Linked DNA regions of Homo sapiens: regions 1, 2 and 4 are each linked to region 3. The links are contacts of gene promoters, found by promoter capture Hi-C in blood cells and fetal thymus (Javierre and others, 2016). All regions are on one chromosome and are shown on one strand. Each heading gives the region's core, a stretch centred on a gene start or on the middle of the fragment in contact. The rest is flanking DNA. Distances are from core to core; before and after follow the strand shown. Region 1 overlaps SLC30A4-AS1 (SLC30A4 antisense RNA 1). Region 2 holds the start of MIR147B (microRNA 147b). Region 3 holds the start of DUOXA1 (dual oxidase maturation factor 1). Region 4 overlaps AFG2B (AAA ATPase AFG2B).

Region 1 (2,796 bases), core at 99-2,598, 340 kb before region 3:
AGATTGAGTCAGTGTGACCTTAGATAAATTATTTGACCTCTTCAGGCTCAGTTTTTTCGTTGGTAAAGTGGGTGTAACTGAAATGCAGGTTGGTTGCTCGTCGCATGTACAGTCCAACAAGAGCAAGGCCAGATATTTAAAAAGTGAATTTATTGCAAAGCTGGTGTGAACTCTGAAAATCTGAGACAGGTCTGAGTTAATTTAGAAAGTTTATTTCGCCAGAGTTGAGGATGTGCACCGGTGACACAGCCTCAGGAAGTCCTGACGACATGTGCCCAAGGTGGTCAGAGCAAAGTTTTCCCTTTTATACGTGCTAGGGAGACATGCGACGTCAGTCAACATATGCAAGATGAACACTGGTTCGGTCTGGAAAGGTGGGAAGACTCAAAGCGGGGAGGGGGCTTACAGGTCATAGGTAGATAAGAGACAAACAGCATTCTTTTGAGTTTCTGATTAGCCTCTCCAAAGGAAGCAATCAGATATGCACTTATTTCAGTGAACAAAGGTCCCTAAGCAGTTCCCAGCTTGACTTTTTCCTTTAGCTTCATGATTTCAGGGCCCCAAGATTTATTTTCCTTTCACACTAGCTTGGGGAGGGGCACAAAGTGTCCTGCCTTCAAATGTGCTACTTCCCCTCTGGAGCAGAAAGGAGACACTTTGATAAAGTAAGAGGGGAATGAATAAGGGCAGGGGGTCCCACTGCTAGTTTGGTGCCTTATTTACCATCCGGTTGAGTTGGCACCTTCCTGGGCAGAAGTTGTAAAAGTGGCCAAGTGGGAAAAGGGTGTGATTTTGCTGTGCCCTCCTTGTGGATGAATGTCCCAAGGCAACCCTCTGGAGGTGAAAGTTCCGTGGTGGGCATGACTTGGTCTGCAAATCTGCCAACTCTCAAGAGAGATCTGTCTTGGAGCACACAGAAGAACTTGTCTGCAGGGAGTGTCTGGTGAGGGGGAGGTGAAAGGTTGTATTTGCATTTCTGAAGGGCTAAGTAGAAAATAGGGAACAGTGGGAAAGGGGAGAGAAGACAACTCATTTCGGGGCACTCAGTTACATGGGGACTCATAACATTAGCTGACTTCATAGGACTGTTGTGAGAATTAAATGAAATAATGCATGCAAAATGCCTGGCATATGTTAGTATTCAATAAATGGTGGCTATGGTTGTCATTATTCCTATTTAGGGTTCCTGAGCTTCCCTAGCCTCACTAGAAGCTTCCCTGGCCTCACCAGCTTTCCAAGCACCCTACTAACAGGTTCAAAACCACGAACTTAAATATACCAGTAGGACGCAGGGTCTGCTTCACAAACCATCACTCATAATCATCCCAGCTCCGAACATGTCATCAGCGCAGGAGTGACATCCTATCACAGCCCCTTCCCTCATCCTTCCACCAGAAGCCTATGGTTGGAGCTGCTTCTGCAGAATTAGGAGCAGAACCTGATGAGTCATGAGCAGAAGGACCTAAAAATTCTTAGGAAGCTTCTTGGTTCAATGCATCCACACCCACCCAATCATGGCCTAAAAATAGTTTTTCTCTAGGGAGAGACCTAACGAGAGATGTGTGTATGTCGTGTCACAGTGACAGAATGAGAGCTCGGATTGCTAGGGGTTTCTCAGGAGCTGAATCTTCCCCAACTGTTCCCCCACATCCCCAGGACAGGCACAGCTGTACTAGCACAGTACGTCCTCCTCCCCCACTTCCTTCACAATAAGCACCCCACACACACCTGAAACACCAGGTTCACCAACAACTACACCCCATCCTCCAAACTCACCTCCCTCATCCCTGTACCTGCTTCTCATTTTACAGGTTATCTCAGTAGGAGTGGGAAAGCCTCGATCCTTCACCAAACCCCACACCTCTCCTGGGGACATCTCAATGCCTTAACAGAAACCACTCCACTTTATAACTTTGCTTTGGATTCATCCTCCGATTTCTCAGCAGACTTCAATGTTGAACACACCCATGGCCCAACCAAACTGAGTCCATTAGACTACAAGAACCTTGAGGACAGGGCCCATGTCCATCTTGCCCCATCCCATCCTTAGTGACCACCACAATGCAGGGCACAAAGTGAACCTCAATAAATCTTTGCTCAGTGAATGATGAGCAAATAAATTCAGATTTTACAGAAGGAGGGGAAGTCTTTCCCTGTTACAGAATCACTGGATTAAAGAATATACTTCGGAACTGTGCTGTCCAATATGGTAATCACTAGCCACATTTGGCCATTTAATGTTAGTTAGAATTAATCAAAATTAAATTCTACTATATGATCTAGCCATTCCGTTCTTTGGTATTTACCCATGAAAAATTAAAGCATATGTCCAAAGACTCATATAATGATGTTCATAGCAGCTTTAGTCACAATGGCTAAAAACTGGGGAAAATATATTTATCCACAGATGAATGGATAAACAAATCATAGCATATCCACACAATGGAATACTGCTGGGCGATAAGAAGGAATTAATTATTGATAAACACAATGACATGGATGAATCTCAAAAGAATTATGCTGAGCAAAAGGGACAGACCAAAAAGAGTAAATACTGTAGGATTCCACTTATATGGAATTCTTAAAAACGCTCAGCATCGTAAGATGGGGCAAAAGTAAAATTCCAAAAAATGCAACCTATCATGACTGAAAGCAGGTCTGTAGTTGTCTGGGGATTAGTGGGAGCAGGGAAGGGTGGGAGGGAGGGATTACAAAGATGCAGGAGGAAACTCGTGTGGGTCCTGCACGTGTTCACTGTCCTGATTGTGGTGATGGTTTCACAGGGGTGTGCTCATG
Region 2 (2,700 bases), core at 66-2,565, 300 kb before region 3:
AATTTGTACATGGCTGTTCATAGCAGCATTATTCATAATAGCCAAAAAGTAGAAACAACCCAAATGTTCATCAACTTACCAATGAACAAAAATGGCATATCCTTACACTGGAAGAGTACTGTCAGAAAAAGTAATGAAATACTGATAATATAAACATGGTACAACATAGATGACTCTTAAAAACACTATACCAAGTTAAAGGAGCCAAACCCAAAGGTCACATATTGCCTGATTCCATTTACATGAGATGTCCAGAATGGGCAAATCCATAGAGACAGTTTATTAGTATTTCCCTGGGGCTGGGAGCAGAGGGGTTGGGACTAGGGAAATGACTGCTAATGGTACAGAGTTCTTTCTGGGGTAAGGAAGATGTTCTGAAAGTAGATGGAGATGGTTGCACAACTTTGTGAATACGCTAAAAACCACTGAATTGTTCAATTTAAATGGGTGAATACTATGACATGTGAATTATATCTCCATTTTTTTAAAAAAAGTTAATGAAAAGCAACTTTCTTCTTATTTCATTTTTAGGGACAGGCAGGGGAGCCCAGCGGCATGCTGGATATGAATGTATCTTCAGCCTTCAAGTTACCATTGGCCAGAGGGAAGAGTGGCCCCAAACTCTGAAGAGCGCTGGCAAGGCTCCCCATCTTCCTCTCCCTAGCCTCCACAGGAACATCACAGTATGGCTTGGCATTTTTTTTTTTTTTTTGAGACGGAGTCTCACTCTGTCACCCAGGCTGGAGTGCAGTGGTGTGATCTCAGCTCACTGCAAGCTCTGCCTCCCGGGTTCATGCCATTCTCCTGCCTCAGCCTCCCGAGTAACTGGGACTACAGGCGCCCGCCACCACGCCCAGCTAATTTTTTGTATTTTTAGTAGAGACGGGGTTTCACTGTGTTAGCCAGGATGGTCTCAATCTCCTGACCTTGTGATCTGCCCGCCTCAGCCTCCCAAAGTGCTGGGATGACAGGCGTGAGCCACGCGCCCAGCCTGGCTTGGCATCTTTAGGGCAGATCTCAGTATGCCTTGCATTCCAATTCATCTCCAGAATCCTACACTTCCTCCAAGGTCAGTCCTCATGCGAGTCTCCAACCTCATCCCCACTTCATTTTCCTCATTGTACTTACCATCTTTTATTCGTATCCCACCAAATTTTGGCTTTGTTAGCTATACTGCAAATAGTAGATGCTCAATAAACTACTAGTGAATGAATGAACTTGGAAAAAAAAGCTTACACAGAAATCTGTACTGGATGTTATTTAAAAGATGAAATTTCATGGTTCAAATGTATTTTTCTCCCATAAAAATATTTTCTCTTCCATTTAAATATATACCTAATCTTTGAGAAATCTTGCACAAATGGCATTTTATTAAAGAAAATCTAATTTACAAAGCTTTGTAAATTTTAAGAAAAACATTCATAGATCATAAACAAAAATTTCAATATGCAATATTCAAATTTACAAGAAAATAAGCACAAACTTTTAGACAGTGCAGTTATTGCTGCACTCCTTTAATTCCTTATCCAGAGCCCAAAAAATGTAGACAAACCCTAAAAATGTAGCAGAAGCATTTCCGCACACTGGTGTCCAGAATCTAGTTTGTGCAGAAATGTTTCCACTAGATTTATAGAGTACTCTTCAGAAGAAAGAGGCGAGGGCTCGTCATTTGGTCACCCTTTGGACATTTTGCAACTCTTCAATGGGTTTCCATTGTTGGTTGATTGTTATAAGCTGAAGAGAAAAAAGGAAAAAAAAAAAACCTTTTGTTAAAAATTTGACTTTCATTTGCATGTCCCTCTTTCGGATTTGTCCACACTCCCCTTTAGAAAAAGCATCACCATTGTGTTTGTACCTACCTCTTTCCATATCTAAAACATGCACAAAATAGTAATGTGAGCTGGTTTCTATCAGTCCATCTTTTTACAAAGCCCTTGGGCTCCTAAGTGTTATGAGATCAGAGGGAAAGATCAAACACATGTGCCCTACTTTCACTTAGCAGTATCCAGATTTTTTTTTAAGACAGTCTTGCTGTGTTGCCCAGGCTGGAGTGCAGTGGCACAACTGCAACTCACTGCAGCCTCCGCCTCCCATGTTCAAGCAATTTTCGTGCCTCAGCCTCTCCAGTAGCTGGGTTTACAGGTGCGTTCTACTACACCCAGCTAATTTTTGTATTTTTAGTAAAGATGGAATTTCACCATGTTGGCCAAGCTGGTCTCGAACTCCTGACTTCAAGTGATCCACCCGCCTCGGCCTCCCAAAGTGTTGGCATTACAGGTGTGAGACACCGTGCCTGGCCGGTATCCAGATTTTTAAGTTTGCCAGGTATTATGTGAGCCATAGTTCCAAAAGTGTATATGCTTCTCATGAGTGGATGGACAATGCTCCTGGCATAGAGTAGGCTCTTAAAATTTCCTCATTTTAATTACTCGATGAAGGCACAATTGATCTAAGTTACACAATAAGGGTAAGGTACTAAATCTATTTTGCTCACAAAGGTGCTAAGGTTTGGGCAAAATATAAATCATTTGTTTTTAATTTAACAATACCTTTTGAGGTACAGTAGGGTCCACAGTTTCCCAAGGTTCTGGATTTTTTTTTCGATCAAGGCTAAAATTAAAGAAAGCCAATTAAACATTAAAAGATGTGAATTTAAACCAACACTGATACTGGGTTTATAAACATGTTAGGGACAAAACC
Region 3 (2,700 bases), core at 116-2,615:
AGGGAAACAGAGGCAGCAGAGGACTCAGGCTGGGACTCCTGAGTGCGAGTAAGGAGTACCTAAAGCCGGCGAAGACCTCCTGAAGGCAACCTGGAGATTGGGGTTAGGATAGAGGAAGAAAGGAGCTCAGGGAAAGCCTCATCCCCAGCCAAACATCAGGGTTCCTGGATGGGTTGTCTAGAGGAGAGAACCCAGGGAGTGACCTCATCCCTACTCCATCTCCTATTAAATGAAAAAACCTAGGCCCTGCCATAACTGGAAAGCTCAGTATCACCTGCTGCATTTCACAGAGTCTGTCCAGGTGCTGGCCTTTAATAGTGCATGAAGAGCTGGGCTCTGGATGGTTGAAGCTGTAAAGCTGGATATACGGAAGTAGCCACAGCGGTCCTTCCCTGATCCCAAGATGTCATTCCCCTCCCCCGCCACCACCATGTCTTCAGGATCCTGGGCCTCAACGCTAATGTACCACTCAGCCCCTAAGGGCATGAAATGGGCTTTCAGACCAGGCTGTGTGGGGATGACCTGAAGAGGAAGGTGGACATGCTTAATAACCACTCCTTGTGGGTGGGTTGCCCTTAATGATTTACACAACGATGGGGCAGTAACTTCTCAACAACCTTGACAGGAAGGTTGCCCAGGACAGGGCAGTGAAGCCCCAGGCAGAGCCAGCGGCAGAACCAGAGAGAGAACACAGGCCTGCCTGTTCTTGCCCCACATGGCTGCTTTTCCAGCCTGAAGCCCTAGAGTGGTGACCCTGGTGGCCCTGAGGTGGGAGGAAGATGGGTCAAGGCCATCTTGGTCCTAAGGGAGGGCTGAGGGGGAAAGCTTGGATCCTAAAGCCCAAAGCTCCCTCCCTGGTATGTTGTGCTGGTGCCAGGAGAAGAACCCGCAGGCCCAGGCAAACTAGGCCACCCAACATTCCCAGGTCCCAAAGAACCCAGTCTCTCAAAACCTTGATTGGGCAGAGGACAGGCCCTAACAGGACCGGTTTTAGCCTTAGGATAAGATCGGAGGCGCAGGGGGCTAGCATTCCCCTTTCTTCCATAACGTGGAGGAGCTGCGGCTCCCCCGCCACCCTGCCCTTGGAGCTCCCTCCCCCGGAGCGCCCAGGCCCGCGGGCCGGGAAAAGCCCTCCCAAATCTGACCTGCGGCCACGGCGTCACCAGAGCCCGGGACTGCAACTTGTCTCCGGCCTGGCTGCCAGCTGGGCCCGCGGAGCCCTCTCTCGTCCGGTGCCTCTGCAGCTCTGCGCCGGGACGGGCGGGGCTGGGGGTGAGGAGGGGAAGGCACGGCCCGGCTCGGCTCAGCCACGGGGCGGGGCGCAGTGGGGCGGGATGGAGTCTGGCGCCTGGGGAGGCGCGGAGGTGCTTCCAGCGGACGGCAGCGCGCGAGGTGAGACGGCGAGGGCTCCCGGGGCGCAGGTAGAGATGTTCCGTCGGTGCCGAAGGCCCGGCTAGTGCGGTTGTGTGGACGGCGAAAAAAGCAAGTCCGCCTTCACAAGTCCCATGGGGCTGGGGAGAGGGTGGGAGGCGGAGAGGGTATGGGGAGGGGAGACTCTCCTCAGATCCTCTCGACACCGTCGGGTCTGGGCTCCAAGTCCAAGGCCATCGATCACCTGCCACCCACAGACCAGGCCAGGCGTCAAAGCAAGTCACCCATCCGACCTAAACCCCTCTAAGACCCCGGAGTCACGTCTCCCTCCGGGGATCCTCGTGAGGTCTTGGGGGTCCCACCGCCCTGCGAGCCGCGCCCGCGCCCCGCCAGACCCGGAACTGCGTCGCTAGGTTTGCGCTGGAGCTGCTGGGATTGCTGGGCATGGGTGGGGGGGCGCAGAGGAGGAGGGGGGATTGGAGGGACCTCTGCGGAGCTGGCAGACCCCGGTACTACTGTCCTGGCGCACCCAGCCCTTCTCTGTACCAGGCCGGGAGAGGGAGGCGGCGCCGCAGAGCCTCGGGTGCAGTCTGAGAAGTTTGGGAGTGACTTGAAGAGTGACTGGAAGCACCCCAGACCCGGTTTGTCCGGTCACAGCCGGGTCCTTACGTGAGTTAGGAGAGGAGTGGGGGTCGGACGGGAGCCCCACTGAGAGTAAGGGCGCGCGTTTGTTCACAGAACGTCGGGACCTGGTTCCCTCTTTAATCACACCCCCGGGGGCGCTTCGTGTGAGGTTCCACGGGGGAAGGCGAGAGGCGCAGGCTGCCACACACGCACTGTTTGGAAGAGGGGAAGGTAGGGAATAGTGGTCCGGGTGTGGGTGGTGGGGGATGCGGCTGCTTAGATCTGTGCGGTCCAGGTGATTTTGGAGGGGGTCTTGAAGTGCTTGCTCCCGCCCTGGCACCTAGGGCTGCACTTCCTGCTTTCATCCAGACCAAGTTCGGATCAAGTGGGAGTTCTTCAAAGAGAGAGTTTGGTAAGAAACTGGGGAGGCAAGGAAAACCTCTTAAGGCCATAAATGCCACAAGGTTTATAGACATCGAATCGCCATCCCAGTTTAACTCGAGTCTGGATACTTTGGCTTGCATGATTCTGCACCCTTGAATTCCTTATCCACATCAGCCCTTACTGGGGAATCCTGCCTCCAATCCACTTTTCAGATCTTGTTCAATTTCTCCACTTAACTCCTATTTTTGTGCAACAACACACATATACATTCATACACAGATACACACGTACACACAGACCCCTTCCTTGAAGAGGAAAGTC
Region 4 (2,764 bases), core at 28-2,527, 280 kb before region 3:
TTTTAAAGCAAGTATTCACTATTATTATTTTTCCACGTTGGGTTTGTCATTCTGCTCTGCTAGAACGTAAGCAAAGCTCACCTCAAAATCCCCAGCAGCTAGAATGACACCTACCCAAAGGAGGCACTCAGTAACAGTAAACCGAATAATGAATGAGTCCTCATTACCTTTAAGGTAAATGGTTTTTAACCACTTTAATCATTATTTTACAGATGCAAAAAAACTCGGGCCTAAAAAAAGTTAAGTAATTTGCCTAGGTCTTACTGCTAATGAGGTGGCAGAACCAATACTGACCCCAGACAATGTAATTCAAGAGCACCAGCAAGGAGCAACGGTGTTGAAGTGGAGGTAGGAGTCAGATCACAATAGGCCTTGAAAGCTTTAGTCTGCACTGAGGAAGCAGTATGGAGAATGGACTGGAAGGAAATTAAACTAGAGGCAGGGAGACCAGCTACAAGTTTCTTGCAATGATTCAGCCTACAAAAATAATAAGGCTGGAGTGTCACAAGCAGTGAAGATGGTGTGGAAGGGATGGATATTTGAAACATAAAACAGAATTGTACTTTACATAGGGACAAAGTTCTGATGCTATGCCTTTAGAAGACAGATTTCTGACTTAGGGGATGGGGTGGCTGGCTGTATTAACTGAGGTAGGGAATCCAAGTGTGGGGGCAGAGCTGACTAGCTGAACTTTTTACATGCTGAGTTTGACATCCCTGGGGTTATCCAGTAGGCAGGCAGTGAAGTAGTTCTGATGATCAGAAGAAATGTCTACTCTAGATATACAGATTTCTGAGTCAACAGTTTTCAGGGATGCTGTGGACATCAAGATCATCATAAAATCACCCACAGCTCCAACAAGAGGAGGACTCTGGGAGCCTCTTGAGCACTAACATTTAAGGGAGGGGAGAGGGTGGCCAGAAAGGCAGAAAAGCTTAATGTCTCAAAGCTAAGGAAACAGAGTGCTTCCAACAGGAAGGTGTGGTTAATTTCTCTCATGCATCTTGTGAACATTAAATGAGACAATGCATAAAAAATATTGGCGCATATTATAAATGCTCTTATCCATGGACTCAAAAATTCTAGGGTTCACTGGAGATAGATCTCCTGGTTAAGATGAATAAATTATAATTATTACTTATATATCAGTCTGTTATGTGTGTGGTTAGAGAAACCTAGTTCATTAGGGCAGGATCACATGTAGGCGAATTGGCAAAATCAATTTCTGAAACTGTAACGCAGGTGAGAGGATCTGAAGAGTTGCGTCCCACAGCTTCCACTGTGAAATCCACTATCAGGTAGCCATATTGTTCATTTCAATTTTGTGCTTTTACCAGTCCCTGTACTGCATCCATTTAACGTCTTTTAGATCAGAGATCCAGGCAAACTAAGGCCTTCCACCTTTATTTGGTACAGCCCAAACTAAGAATAGTTTTTACATTTGTAAATGCTTGAAAAAAAATCAAAAGAATATTTTCTGACATGTGAAAATTATATAATTTCAGTGTCTATACTTTTATCAGAATACAATTACTAATTTACATATGGTCTACAGCTGCTTTGGTGCTACAACGGCAGAGGTGAGTGGTTATGACAGAGACTGTGGATCACAAAGCTTAAAACATTGACTATGTGGCTCTCTCTACAGAAATCTGTTGACCCCCGTTTTAGATTATAATTTTTTTTTTTTTTGAGACGGAGTCTCACTCTGTCCCAGGCTAGAGTGCAGTGGTGCAACCTCAGCTCACTGCAACCTCAGCCTCTTAGGTTGAAGCGATTCTCCTGCCTCAGCCTTCCCAGTAGTTGGGATTACAGGCTTGCGCCACCACACCTGGCTGATTTTTGTATTTTTAGTAGAGACAGGGTTTCACCATGTTGGCCAGGCTGGTCTTGAACTCCTGACCTCGTGATCCTCCTGCCTCGGCCTCCCAAAGTGCTGGGATTACTGGTGTGAGCCACCACGCCCGGCCTATAAATTGTTTTTGTTTTTTTGAGATGGAGTTTCACTTTTGTTGCTCAAGCTGGAGTACAATGGCGTGGTCTTGGCTCACTGCAACCTCCACCTCCCGGGTTCAAGCGATTCTCCTGCCTCAGCCTCCTGAGTAGCTGGGATTACAGGCATGCGCCACCACGCCTGGCTAATTTTTTGCATTTTTAGTAGAAATGGGGTTTCTCCATGCCAGCCAGGTTGGTTTCTAATTCCTGACCTCAGGTGATCTGCCTGCCTCGGCCTCCCAAAGTGCTGGGATTACAGGTGTAAGCCACCATGCCCAGTCAAAATTGTTTTTTAATTTTTTTTTAAAGACACAGGATCTCGCTCTGTTGCCCAAGCTGCAGTGCAGTGGTGCAATCATAGCTCACTGCAGCCTCGATCTCCTGGGTGTCCTGGGGTCAAGCCTCAAGTGATCCTCCTGAGTAGCTAGGACCATAAGCACGTGCTACCACACCTGGCTAATTTAAAAAAATTTTTTGTAGGCCAGGCATGGTGGCTCATGACTATAATCCCACCATTTTAGGAGGCCGAGTTGGAGGACTGTTTAAGCCCAGGAGTTCAAGGCCAGCTTGAGTAGCACAGTGGGACTCTATCTCTACAAAAAATTTAAAAATTAGCCAGGCGTGGTGGTATGCACCTGTAGTCCCAGCTACTTGGTGGGGCACTGAGGCAGAAGGACTGCTTGAGCCCAGGAGTTCAAGGGTGCAGTGAGCTGTGTTTGTGACACAATACTCCAGCCTGGGTGACAGAGCAAACATGTGTCAAAATAAT

Evidence for each region. Contacts are between HindIII fragments. The CHiCAGO score rates a contact against its expected background, and 5 or more counts as called.
Region 1: a contact is called between a fragment that was not itself captured here and the fragment with the promoter of DUOXA1 in region 3, in 1 of 17 cell types (erythroblasts). The highest score is 5.1, in erythroblasts.
Region 2: a fragment that was not itself captured here is called in contact with the fragment with the promoter of DUOXA1 in region 3 in 1 of 17 cell types (total B cells); the score reaches 5.4 in total B cells.
Region 4: a fragment that was not itself captured here is called in contact with the fragment with the promoter of DUOXA1 in region 3 in 10 of 17 cell types (endothelial precursors, naive B cells, erythroblasts and 7 more); the score reaches 7.8 in endothelial precursors.

The regions. Positions count from the first base shown.
Region 1 is chr15:45,467,265-45,470,060 of GRCh38, reverse strand. The region is part of intron 1 of SLC30A4-AS1 (SLC30A4 antisense RNA 1); the gene reads right to left. Among named protein-coding and RNA genes, the nearest start is that of SLC30A4-AS1, 20 kb to the right of the region's middle. The HindIII fragment of the contact is 268 bases long and covers 1,215-1,482 here.
Region 2 is chr15:45,431,982-45,434,681 of GRCh38, reverse strand. It overlaps COXFA4L3 (cytochrome c oxidase associated subunit FA4L3), which reads right to left. Exons shown (of 5, transcript NM_197955.3): 4 at 2,550-2,610; 5 at 1,342-1,734. The coding sequence ends at 1,666. MIR147B (microRNA 147b) reads right to left here and starts at 1,632; the gene lies at 1,553-1,632. LOC107987223 (a long non-coding RNA gene) reads left to right here. Exons shown (of 2, transcript XR_001751510.2): 2 at 532-1,213. The HindIII fragment of the contact is 164 bases long and covers 1,234-1,397 here.
Region 3 is chr15:45,128,544-45,131,243 of GRCh38, reverse strand. It overlaps DUOXA1 (dual oxidase maturation factor 1), which reads left to right and starts at 1,365. Exons shown (of 9, transcript NM_001276266.2): 1 at 1,365-1,392; 2 at 1,629-1,784; 3 at 2,110-2,226. It overlaps DUOX1 (dual oxidase 1), which reads right to left and starts at 1,250. Exons shown (of 34, transcript NM_175940.3): 1 at 1,146-1,250. The HindIII fragment of the contact is 6,225 bases long and covers 828-2,700 here.
Region 4 is chr15:45,411,327-45,414,090 of GRCh38, reverse strand. All of the region lies in intron 3 of AFG2B (AAA ATPase AFG2B), which reads right to left. Among named protein-coding and RNA genes, the nearest start is that of AFG2B, 10 kb to the right of the region's middle. The HindIII fragment of the contact is 681 bases long and covers 937-1,617 here.